Linked DNA regions of Homo sapiens: region 1 is linked to region 2. Evidence: promoter capture Hi-C in 16 types of primary human blood cells and fetal thymus (Javierre and others, 2016). All regions are on one chromosome and are shown on one strand. The core of a region is centred on a gene start or on the middle of the fragment in contact, and the rest is flanking DNA. Distances in the headings are between cores, read along the strand shown. Region 1 overlaps LOC124901993. Region 2 holds the start of RRM2B (ribonucleotide reductase regulatory TP53 inducible subunit M2B).

What was found. Contacts are between HindIII fragments. The CHiCAGO score rates a contact against its expected background, and 5 or more counts as called.
Region 1: a fragment that was not itself captured here is called in contact with the fragment with the promoter of RRM2B in region 2 in 1 of 17 cell types (M2 macrophages); the score reaches 5.6 in M2 macrophages.

The regions. Positions count from the first base shown.
Region 1 is chr8:101,317,667-101,323,787 of GRCh38, reverse strand. LOC124901993 reads right to left here. Exons shown (of 6, transcript XM_047422526.1): 4 at 5,627-5,733; 5 at 3,638-3,733; 6 at 2,526-3,033. The coding sequence ends at 2,993. Among named protein-coding and RNA genes, the nearest start is that of LINC02844, 58 kb to the right of the region's middle. The HindIII fragment of the contact is 3,531 bases long and covers 409-3,939 here.
Region 2 is chr8:102,233,717-102,240,210 of GRCh38, reverse strand. RRM2B (ribonucleotide reductase regulatory TP53 inducible subunit M2B) reads left to right here and starts at 1,250. Exons shown (of 9, transcript NM_015713.5): 1 at 1,250-1,384. The coding sequence starts at 1,337. It overlaps UBR5-DT (UBR5 divergent transcript), which reads right to left and starts at 760. Exons shown (of 3, transcript NR_125415.1): 1 at 511-760. RefSeq lists a silencer at 827-1,256 and enhancers at 1,327-1,426, 2,730-3,929. The HindIII fragment of the contact is 7,159 bases long and covers 1-2,426 here.

The DNA of each region.
Region 1 (6,121 bases), core at 925-3,424, 920 kb after region 2:
AAAAAAAGTGTCCCCTCTCCCAGTCACACTCTATCACATAGCCTTATTTGTCTCCCTAGAACTTGGCACATTATGCAATTATCTTGTTTATGGATTTGTTTACTTGTTATTATGTGCCCTCCTCCAGCAGACCATAAGTTTCACAAGAGTAGCAGCTGTGTCTGAATGGTTCACCACAGTATTCCCGATGCCTAGAACATGGTCAGTAACTGCTTTTTCAATGAAAAATATTTGAGTTCCACTCTTTGCTCATGGGTGACCTTGTCAAGTCATGCCCTCCCTGCCCAAGGTTGTTGTAAAGGTGAAATGGAATCACATATGTGAAATTACCTCATACACTTCCCGACACATGGGACATCTTCAAATGTCTTAGCCTACCTTCCCTAGAAAACAGGCTGAGACAAAGCTTAAGTGCAATGCTTTATTGCAAGAAAACCCTAGGGCTGGGAAAATGAGGGGAAAGGAAAGAAAGGCAGGGAAGAGTAAGAAGCCAATATAGAGTAGTGCTACTGAGAGGCCCACTGCTTCACAGATACAGCCAGCCACCTGGCCATGGGAGACATCTCCAGGTAAGCTGTAGAAGAACATTACCCTTCAGAACAGTCCCTCACTGAGAGGAATACAGAAGTATTTAGTCCATCCGTTTACACTGTAACATGCTTCGCCTTGGTCAAAGTGTGCCCCAAGAGGAGTTACCTCCCTTCTACTTTGGGGATTCAGAGTTACCTCCCTTCTACTTTGGGGATTCATCACGTAGTCACCAAGGAAGCCAGACTCCACCCCCTTTGGTGTGGCACTTCATCTGAGGCCAAAAGTGATGTATGGACCCAGAGACTCTGGGCTCTAGTCCCCAAGGGTCCCGAAGATAGATGAGGTTGAGAGAGTCTGAAGCAGTCCAGGTGTGTCTGATACATCAACAAATGCCAGTGAGTCCTGCATGTGGGCAAGAACTGAGACCAGGACCCAGTCCTGGGACTGAGGCACATAGGGGTCAGGGATGGAGGAGAGTTTGATCACAGGTTAAGAGGCTGCACATTAAAGCAAGGATGTCAAGAGTGTCCAAGAATCTGAGAGGAGGGCAGATCTGGTTCTTAGTCATCTGTCCTCAAGATCCTCATGGCCCTGCAGGTCCAGTCATTAGTCTTCCCTGCTGGTGTCTCTGTGGCATCTGAGTTTTCCATCTGCTCCCTGGTCATCTGTCTTTTCCCACACCCTGCATCCCCCTTATCCTAAGCACAAGGCCCTCTCAGGTTCTCTAGCCCTCTCCCTTGGGCATCTGACACTTCCTTGGGGAATCCCAGAAACTTTTGGATGTTTGTTTGTGCTCTCTTAGGAAATGAGAAATGCAAAGGCCTATGATATGGTTTGGCTCTGTGTCCCCACCCAAATCTCATCTCCAATTGTGATCCCCACGTGTTGAGGGAGAGACCCGGTGGGAGCTGATTGGATCATGGGGGTGGTTTCCCCCATGCTGTTCTTGTGATAGTGAGGGAGTTCTCACGCGATCTGATGGTTTAAAAGTGGCAGTTTTCCTTGCACTCTCTCTCTCCTGCCATCTTGTGAAGAAGGCACTTACTTCCCCTTCACCTTCCACCATGATTGTAAGTTTCCTGAGGCCTCCCCAGCCATGTGGAACTGTGAGTCAATTAAACCTCCTTCCTTCATAAATTACCCAGTCTCAGGTATTCTTTATAGCAGTGTGAGAATGGACTAATATAGCCTATCTCAGACCATTTCCTCCTGGACACATAGGCTGCCATTTCTAGCTTGTCATACCCATACTCTCATAAGAGACTTATCCACAAGACTCTCCTGGGAAGAGAGGTCCAGGTCTGCTCTGCTCCTGCTCCTGAATATTACCAAACCTACTCAGGATTTTTAACATGCATACCCTGACCCTGGGTCTCAACCCAGGAGGACCCTTTGCAGAGTTGTATACGAGTTTCTAACCCCATTACTCTTCTCTCGGACTTATCTCTCTTTTCCAGCAATCATTAGAACTCTTCACGTATTTTATCTCTTGTTTATATTTATAAATATATATGTTTTGCTCTTGAGTTCTTTAGGTATGGTTTCTGAGGCTCAAAGCCTGGTACTTGTAATTTCATATTTTTTTGTCTCCAAGATATGCTCATTACCAAATGTTTTGATAGTTTATTTTAAAACTCAGTTGACACTTTTTTCTTTTCTCAGCACATTTGCTGAGTCTTTTTTCCCATGAGGCAAAACTTCCATTTGGTCTCTTACATTGCCCAGCACTTGCAGTTAGGCAGGGCCACTTGACCAGTTCTGGCCATGAAATATGGGTGAAAATAATGACTGCCACATACCTACATCCATGTACAATTTTATGTGCTTTCTTCTGCTGTGCCTATCAAGGAGGACATGCACTCAAATGATACAGCTACAAGGTGACGGCACCTGCTTTAGCCTGAGTCCTGAGTGACTATATGGCGCAAAGTCCTTCACTGACCCACAATGAACATGTAGCATGAATGAGAAATAAACTATTGTGTGTTTAACCATTGAGATTTTTGCAGCTGTTTATTATTGCAGCACAGTCTGGCCTATCCTGACTAATACCATAGGCTGGAATGCTCTTACACATTGATTGAGGAAGTATCAGGAATATAATGAGATTCTTGAGGGAAAAAGAAAACAAACAAACAAACCTTGGTTGATACTATAAACTATTATCCCATTACAATTTTATAAGTCAAGGATGTTATTCAAAATATTGAATAACCTGTATAGCATGAGTCCAACTAATCAGAACAGTCACAAAAACAAATCAGAAGAGATATCACCCAGTAGAGTATGCAGGGAGGTGTCAGCTGAAGATCCTTGGCATGTTGTCAGAGCAATATGAGCATTAAATATCTTGAATATGGAATAAGTGAATGAGCAATAAGGCTGATTATAAGCTGAGTTCATGGCCTCTGCATCTAAAATTTACTTAAAACAAAGAAGGTGGACTCCAGAGTCTGGAAGGTTAAATGGATGCATTTCCCTGGCTGTTCCTTCTGCTCCAACCTGAAAAAAAAATAAAGCAACTGAATCTCAGCATCTGTATCTGCTTATCTATTTTATGGCCAAATCATTTCTTATCTGTTAACATTTAGCCTGCTCGAAAATGTGGCCATTTATATGTCAACATATTTATTGATATGTTTTCAAGTGTACTTCTAATTGTTCAGAATGTCAAATTCTTTCTGGGAAGCTCAAATAATTGACATATTCCTGCCACTATGGATAATCAATAGTCTAGTGATGCCCTAAGTAACAAACTGAGAGACCGAGAAGACCTCCTGAACCATGAGAGAAAGATTCAAGAATGTTCTGGGTGGTTCTAAGGTTAAGTACACACTGCTGTGGGCTTACTTGGACACGGGCCATTGTTATATGATTGGAATATTTGTCCCCTCCAAAACTCATGTTGAAACTTGAACACAAATGTTTCAGGATTGAGAGGTGATTGGATCATGAGGGCTCTGCCCCAGTGAATGGATAAATCCATCATGGATTAATTGATTAAAGGGTTAATGGATTAATGAATTATCATGGGAGTGGAATGGATGGCTTTATAAGAAGAGGAAGAGAGCCTGGGCTAGTACACAAACGCACTCAGCCCACTTACCATGTGATGCCCTGCCTACCTCAGGATGCTTCAGAGTCCCCACCAGTAAGAAGGCCATCACCAGATGCAGGCCCTCGACCTTGGACTTCTCAGCCTCTGTAAGTGTAAGAAATAAATTTTTTTCTTTATAAATTACCCAGTTTCAGGTATTCTCTTATAAGCAACAGAAAACAGACTAATATAGTGATTACTAATGCCATTTTAGTAATTTTCATCTAGCCAGAAGAAACAATTCACAAAGAATCTCATATCTCAACCATTGAAAGAAATGGAAGTTTTCCATAGTGTGGCCAGTGAAAGCTTACATATTACAAGAGACTATGAACCTGGAAATAACTGAATGGCTGAAATTATGTGCAAAAATTCTGTCTTTGTACTTACATGCTTGGCATATTACACATGCATTTCTAGCTTTATACATGCCCCAAGAATATTTTTAGGAGATGAATAAACCCCAACTTGCAAAGACAATTTCCTTGCAAAGAAAGGACTTTGTCTGACTAATCCAAATGGCAAAATAAAAACAGGAGACAGAAAGATGAGTCTTTAAATCTTAAAAACACTTGAATTGTAGTTAAAAGAAAATCAAAGCCTCAGATGGTAGAGTGTTGATGCATTTAGATGAAAATTAAAATGAAGAATGAAGAAAGCACTAAGTAATCCTCTTCTGGTTGAGTCAAAGGATTTGCTTCCTGAAATTCAAGTGATGATAGAAGGAGGGAGTACATGGTCTAGTGTCTGAGCTTGGGGAGGAGTGTGGCAGGAATGTTGTCCTGACAGCAAGGTTGGAAGGGGAAAAGAAAGCTTGCTTGGCAAGCTTGGTCAAAGCTTGTTTGTTGGGAAATCAATGTAGGCAGGGAAGGAGAAATTTCTGGAACAGAGATTCCTTAACTTGGAGGAGCAACAGCTGCCTCCAAAGATCCAACTGTCCTTTCATTTATTTTAGAAGAGATAAAGAATGACATATATTAAAAACTAAAGAGACTTAGGGTTGAATGAGAAGATCTGCAGTCAGAAAATGCAGATACCAGAATTTTGTAGCTACTTGCAATTTATTTTATAGAAAGCTTTTAAATATTGGGAGCAGCTTATCTTTTTTTTCCAACATGGAGAAGATTAAATGGAGAGGATGGAACTGGAATTTTTTTGCAACTTCTATTTCTCTATTTCAAAGCTGCTAACAAGTCTGTCATAAACACCAGCTGGGCTGCAGCTGGAACAAATTCGGTCTATGGGTCATTCTCGTGAGTATTTGAGCAAGCAACCTTGCCATATGACTTTTCATAAGCATAAAATCTGGAATTGTAAAAGAAACTGAAATCAACATTTATGGAGTGGGTCTAAAGGGCAGGCCCTGCAGACCTGAAGTGTAGGTCACATGTTGCTGCAAAGATTCCTTCCTCTCTACTCCTGGCAACTGTCCCCACTCCTACTCCCATGCCCTATCCTTGCTCTTTTCTCCTGGTCTCTCAAGGTCTCATCCTTCTCTCACTATCTGCCACAGATGTCCAAAGGGACTGAGAAAACTCCACTATTATGAAGAATGAGAGAAGGGAGATTGAGGAATAACTAGCCATCTGCCAATCACATCATGCTCTTGTTAAGTGTCTTGGCATCAGAGAAGGTACTTCATTCTAAATCACTTTTGCATTCCCAGAACCTAGTCTAGTGCTTGGCGCATAGTAGGTGCTTAGTAAATGCCTGCCAAATAAATTACTATCATGTAAGAGAATTGCAGAGCACAGATTTTTAGTGTAAACTTTGTGAGGATAAAAATAAAATGCCTTTTAAATAAGTAAAGCATTGAAGATACTCATTATTTGTATCCTAATCTAGTACTCAAAATGCAGATGACTTCTTATTTCTTTAAAAGAGGGGAAAGCTTTACATTAAAACAACAGACAAGAGGCAGAAAATGAAAAGACTAATAGGCCTAAAGTTAGGCGTAATCCCACCTTCTTGAGTTTTAATTTCAGTCTCCTTACTTACCCAAGAAGGCATCTGTCATCCCTGAAGCCTTAGAAGGAAGTTTATCCTTCCTTAGAACCAGAAAATAATGGGTACAATTGTCTGCTGGTCCCAGGGAAAGGGTGGCACTAATAGGGGAAAGGAGAGAGGGGTGATAAGGTTAATCTTAGACTAGTAATTTTCAGGAACATGGCATCAAAGAAAACACCATTGGTTTCCTAACAAAGAGCTTAAGTCACCTTTAAAGCAATAGTGCAACACCAACATGGAATTCAGTCTCCTCCCAGGAGGTTTTGTAGCTTCCACTAAAAGCAGGTCTTGGAAAGGCTCCCTCCAGAGTTCTGCCAAGCTCTCTCCCTCTGGCTCTTGTGGTGTGCTTTCCTTTGCTCCTCACAGAGCCCCTGGTCCAATGGGAAGCACAGACAATTACAATTCAGAGTGATGGACAGACGACACCCTGGAGTGTGGCCAAGGCATCCAGGGCTCACAGGGATGTTGGTGTGCAGAGTGGCTGGG
Region 2 (6,494 bases), core at 1-2,500:
GCATTTGACCCCTAGTAGTTGCTTTAAGAAAGACTGTCTACCCCTACGCTATGGCAGGTTTGAGAAAGGGCTTTCAGCATTTTCAACGCTTAAAGTGAGATCTTGATCCTATTTACCATCCTTCAGCCAGCCACAAAACAGGTGCATGCTGTTCAGGTCATGGCAAGATCCCGTCAATCTTTCAGCTTCAAACTACTTAAACAAATCTCTCTTCCATTTTATTTTTGTTAGACCAAACTATTTTTTTCAAAATATATTTTTTTCAAAATATTTGCCTGACTTTAGTAACGTGTCCCTCTCCCCCTCACTCACCCGCATTCACACACACACACACACACTTTCCCCCAGACACTTCCCCTTTTCGGTTGTTTACGCACGAAACCAGCCAGCCCTTTCCCTAGCGAAGTGTTTGGCGGTGTAGCTGTCCCGTCCCCGGCGCTTCCCACAGCAACAGCGCGTTCTCTTCGCCTCCCGCAGTCTCTCAGGACAGGCCAGGCTAGCGCAAAGTACCGTGTTCCTGGAACACCACGAGGGCGAGCTCGGGAATCTCGAGCCGGCCTGCAGGACACCTGCCGCACCAAGTGGCTAGAGCCCGGGGAGGGCGAGGCGAGGTGGGACGAGGCGGGGTGGTGAGCGGGCCGGGAAGGCGAGGCCGCGCGGACTCTGGGATAGCTCCTCAGGAGTGGGCGCCCGGAGTGGGCGAGCGGAGGAGGCGGGGCCGATGAGGTGAGGTGGGGCCAGCTGGAGTAGGCTAAGCAGTCCAGAGCAGGGGGCGTCCCTCAGTGGAAAGCCGGGCGACTGGGCGGTGCAACAGAGTAAGGCGGGGCCAGCGGAAGCAGGGAGATTTCCTTAGGCCGCAGGCGGGGAAATGGGGCTGGCCGGGGTAGGCGGAGCCCCGAGGCAGGGGAGGCGTGGCTGGCAGAGGTAGGCGGTGCCCCAAGGCAGGCGGGGCTTGCCGAGACAGGGATAATCCCTTAGGCCACAGGCTGGGAGGCAGGGCAGGCCGAGGCGGGGAGGATCCCTTAGGCCGCAGTAGGGGAGGCGGGTCGGCCGAGGCGGGGAGAAACCCTTAGGCCGCAGGCGGGGAGGCGGGGCTGGCCGAAGTTAGGCGGAGCCCCGAGGCGGGGGAGGCGGGGCCGGGCCGGCGCAGGGAGAGTCACTCAATGGACAGGCGAGAAAGCAGGACCGGCGCGGCGGGGCGGGGCCGGCCGAGTCCCTAGAGCTGGGGGCGGGGCGGACCCAGCGGACCAGCGGACCACCTGGGTGCTGTCGTAGTTGGAGGTGGCCTGAGGAGCTCAGTTCCCTCAGCGCCCGTAGCTTCGGCGGAGTCTGCGCGATGGGCGACCCGGAAAGGCCGGAAGCGGCCGGGCTGGATCAGGATGAGGTAAATGTTGCTGTTGCGTCTTCCCCCTCACCGCAGTCACGCCAGCCCGTTAGATTGCAAGTTGCAGGACCGCTGTAGGAAATGTTATTCGCCGCGGTCAGGACAGGCCTGTCCGCCCGCCCTCGCCGCAGCCTGGCTTCGTCGTTGCGAGCGCCGGGGAGGCCGTCCCCGGGGAGGGCGGAGGAAGGAGCTGACTTTGGGTTTGCGTCCCGCTCGCTGCTCTGCCCCGGGGCCAGCCAAGGACGACGCTTGGAGGCCTCAGGCCGGGGTGAGACTTACCCCTGCGTTTATCCGCCTCACGCTCTCCCACCCTCCTTCCCTGTTTTGGAGCCCTGGCCAGGGAAACCGAGGCAAGGAAAGAGGACTGTGGCGGCTCTGCTGGAGAGGTGCATACCATTTGGGATGGTGACAAGGAGTTGGAGAACGCGTGTGGAAATTGACACAGGTGGCTGGGGTGAAGATGACAGGTAGAAGGGGACACGAAATCCTCATGACCTCCTCCCAGTGAAAAAATCAGGGTAGGAGGCCAGTTTTGCTCAGGCCCGGCTCCTTAACTAACTGAATCTTCGGGGTGTCACTTTCTTCCTTTATACAATGGAAGTGATACTTCAGAGAGAATTAAGTAAAATGCTTTATGCAAAGTGCCACGAAAATTGTAGGTGCTTAATAAGCCCAAGTTGTTCATCCAAGTTGTTTATGCTGATAAAAGTACCTAAAATAAATAAACCAGAATTTGTTAGACTGTAGGATTGTATGGTAGTTTAAACTGTTGCTGTATAATTTTCAAACACTGTCATTTTGCAAATACTTCTAAGCCCTTTGTGGACAAGAGAAATGCTTTTTGTACTACTGGAACCTGTTGCTGTGGTATCTTTGATTTAATACTGTGAAGATTTGGGGGAAACAAACGTTTCCACCCCAAGAGATTCATGCTTGGCCCTACATTTCTTTAGAAAGTTGTAGATTCCAGGTTTGAGATTTTATTTTATTTAACTTGATTTTTGTAAGCATTTAGTAACTAACTGTAAATATCCCTCAAGCTTTTTCTTCCTGTTTTGAAACAAATGCGTTTAGTACCAACTTCCCTACTCAAAGGGGAAAATTCAGACTGCTGTTTATGCTAATGGCACCAGCAGTGATTCAGGCTTAACACCTGGATATTACATTTTATTTATTACTCCTATCTCAATGATACAGACCCGCAAGGACAGACAGAATTTTAGATTCAGAATGAATTTTAGTGGTCCAAAAGTTTTTAACTTGAGATGCTGGGTTGCCTGAAGCACTTTGTTTTTCTAGATGCCAGAGTGCATAATAGGAGACCTGCATCAGAGTCACTTGGAGTATTTTGTAAAAAATGTAAATTGCTGGACCAACACCCCAAACATAGTGAATCAAAATCTCTTGAGATCTGCATTTTTAACAAGTACTTCAGGTGATCCTGGTACACATATTAAAACAAAAACAAAAAACCCCCCACTGTCTTAAAGGGTCCATAGATAGACTAGAAGGGGCTTTATAAATCTCCTGAAGTGATATGTAGATTTTGTATGTGCAGATGTGAATCTTCTGAGAAAGGGGTCCATAGTTATTGTCAATTTCTCAGAGTTAACTATTGCTAATCTAATTCATAGTCTATTGTCAAGGTAAAGTTTAGGCCAGAAAACATTAAATGGCATGCCCAGGACTCAGTAGAGGAGCTAAATTTAAAACCAAGTTCTTGCACCTGGGCGGGTATCCCATTGGTTCCGTCAGACTTTGTGGGAATAGAAGTGAAAATAATACTTACAAGTAGTGTATGACTATGACAACATACAGCTATTTTACAGAAGTAGAAGAGACATAAAGGCAAAGAAACGGAAGTGGTGGAATTGGGGCTGGATAGGAGGTAAGAGCCTGGTATGATGCCAGCCTAGATTGGGGCATCGTAAGTGCTTGCTGGGAAATCTTGACCTAAATTGTTGTCCTGACATGCCCAGGCATGTCTTCCAACTGGGTGACCAGAAATTGAGTCAGTCGGAAACTGGAAGTACCATTCTGGAAAAAACAGCAGAATGTCACTAAGGAATGCCTACTGCTAAACTTTATTTCAAATTCTCATCACTTTACACCTGTGCGGCTATAATAATTTTGTTGTTTCTCTATCTCCTATCTTACCTGCCATTCAATCCTAATTACCATTGCCAAGTTAATCCTTCATTAGACCAGTGCCTCAGTGTCACTGACCCTGTGTCCCCCAAAAAACTCCCAAAAGAGTCTCAATTCCTACCAAAAAGCCTGGCCAACACCTCAGGCTGGTGAAGTCTTGTTGAAGCTGCTTTTTTCATGCTAACTGCCACATCTTAATTCAAGTCCTCATTTCCATCTTTGAAATTGGTTCCTTAGTTGCTTGCAAAATCTAGTTTTTTATCAATTAATCCTATACGTGGTTTTCTGATTAGTCTTCCTAATGCCACCTCTATTCATGTTAATTCCCATTCAGAAACTCTCCATGACTATTTGTACCCCCAAATCTGTGGGGTACAGATTTTCAAACTGTACCCTGCTATGAACGCCAGCACCTGGGGTTGGGGGCAAATGGGGAGAATTGGAGTATGAGCCTTCTAGACCTCCGATGTTTGAAGATCTTTGGCCACAAAATTGATTCCTAACCTCTTAGTCTGATTTATCTTAAGAGTCTAGATCCTTTGCTTTAGCCAAATCACATCATTCCTACTTTTGCTTTTCCTTGTCCTGCATCCATTTCAGCCTGTTTTAATCTCAGCTGGCTTCTCTTCTTTCATCTGCCCTTTAAATATCAGCATTCTCTAAGACTGTATCCTCAGTTGTCTTGCTGCTCTATATGTTCTCTCTGGATAATCACATCCATTCCCTTGGCAACCACTAATGGGATCTCCATCACTCGTGTTCTGCAGTGTTATATTTTTAACTGCTTACTGGACATCTTGAAACTGAATTCATTATCTTTTCTATTCTTTTTTTTTTGAGACGGAGTCTCACTCTGTCACCAGGCTGGAGTACATACAGTGGCACAATCTCGGCTCACTGCAACCTCTGCCTCTTGGGTTCAAGTGATTCTCCTGCCTCAGCCTCCCGAGTAGTTGGGAGTACAGGCGTACGCCACCACGCCCGGCTAATTTTTGTATTTTTAGTAGAGACGGGGTTTCACCATGTTGGCCAGGATGGTCTCAATCTCTTGACCTTGTGATCCGCCCGCCTCGGCCTCCGAAAGTGCTGGGATTACAGGCGTGAGGCACCACGCCGGGCCTGAATTCATTATCTCTTCTAATGACCTAGTTGACTTTGTGAGGATATTGTGTTTGTAACTTTGTTGTTGTCGCCTGGCTTGGTGGGAGGAGTTAAATTAAACTTCCGTTAAACATCTAATGTGAGAAGCAAAATTTTTGTCTGATTTATTTATTTATTCTCCAGGTACTGAGCACCTTGTGTGTGCCTTTTAGATCTTGTTATCACCCAGTTACTGGAGCTGGAAACATCAAGGGCATCTTTAACTGTTCTTGCCCCTTGTCCCAAATTCAAATTTTTAGGAAGAATAATTCATTCTACTTCTGAATATCACTTAAATCAATTTTTGTGTGTGTTTCTAGTTCAGGCAAGAGATGGGTAGTACAATAATCTTTTCATTGTTCTTTCTGCCTCTAATTTCTCTTCTAATCTAGCAATGTTTCTAGAAAAGCGATCTTAAAAGATATATCTGATTATGTTATTTGCCTTATTAAAAACCTTCAGTGGCTCCCAATAGCATACATCTTAGAGTTATTAGATGCCAAAGTGTTTTATATCAAAGCAGACCACTTTAACCTCCAAAATTTTTTAAAAATCAGATTACTACTAACCAATTTTGCTCTTTTATTAACCCTGTAAAAATATAGATACCCATGAGCTTTGAAATTTCTATGTCTAGTAGGCTGCTCTCTCATGCACCCATATATTTCTTTTTGTTTTGTTTTGTTTTTTGAGATGGAGTCTTGCTCTGTCACCAGGCCTGAGTGCAGTGGCGTGATCTCAGCTCACTGCAATCTCTGCCTTCTGGGTTCAAGTGATTCTCCTGCCTCAGCCTCCCGAGTAGCTGGGACTACAGGTACGCGCCACCACACCCAGCTAATTTTTGTATTTTTAGTAGTGACAGGGTTTCACCATGTTGGCCAGGATGGTCTCGATCTCTTGACCTTATGATCCGCCCGCCTCGGCCTCCCAAAGTGCTGGGATTACAGGCGTGAGCCACCGCGCCCTGCCCATCATATCTTTTTTCACATTTTTTTTTTCTTCTAAAATATGGGTTCTTAGATTAGGTCCACAGAGGGTACTGTGGAGAGCCTAGAGTTTCAAGATGCATGAACTTTCTGAAATTGTATTCAAATGTATGTTTGTGCACGTTTCTAAGCATTATGAAATAATACGTCATCTCTAGCCCAGCTCAAAGGTTGATGTTGGTTAACCTCCTTCTCTTCACATTGCAAAATCCCTCATAATACACTCCTAATCCAGCTACTCCTCTTAATAGTCTACAGGTTATCAGGATAGAACAGGAGAATGTGTATACAAATGTGACTTTCATTCTAACTTAAAGGTACTAGTCTTCAGCAGATCAGTTATTTATCATCATTTAAAAACTTCATTCATCGTCAGGGCATTTGGTGCTGAAGAGTGACTGCTTGTGATGTCCTTCCCAACTTCCAGTAACAAAAGTATAGAAGTTCCCAACTTTCATACTTTGAGTATATCCCAAATTTCAGTAATAAAAATAACAAAGGCCAGGAGTTTGAGACCAGCCGGGGCAACATAGCATGACCCCCATCTCTACAAAAAATTTAAAAATTATCCAGGTGTGGTGACGTGTGCACATAGTCCTAGCTACTTGGGAGGCTGAGACAGGAGGATTGCTTGAGCACAGGAGTTTGAGACTGCAGTGATCTATGATCACACTACTCTGATCTATGCACTCTAGCCTGGGTGACGGAGCAAGACCCAGTCTTAAAAAAAAATTGCTCAAATATTTGTGGAATGAGTACCAACTAAGTGCCAGGTACTGTGCTAAGCACAAGGGATTCTACAAGGGTGAAAATGGATTTTACTTTCAAGAAGCACA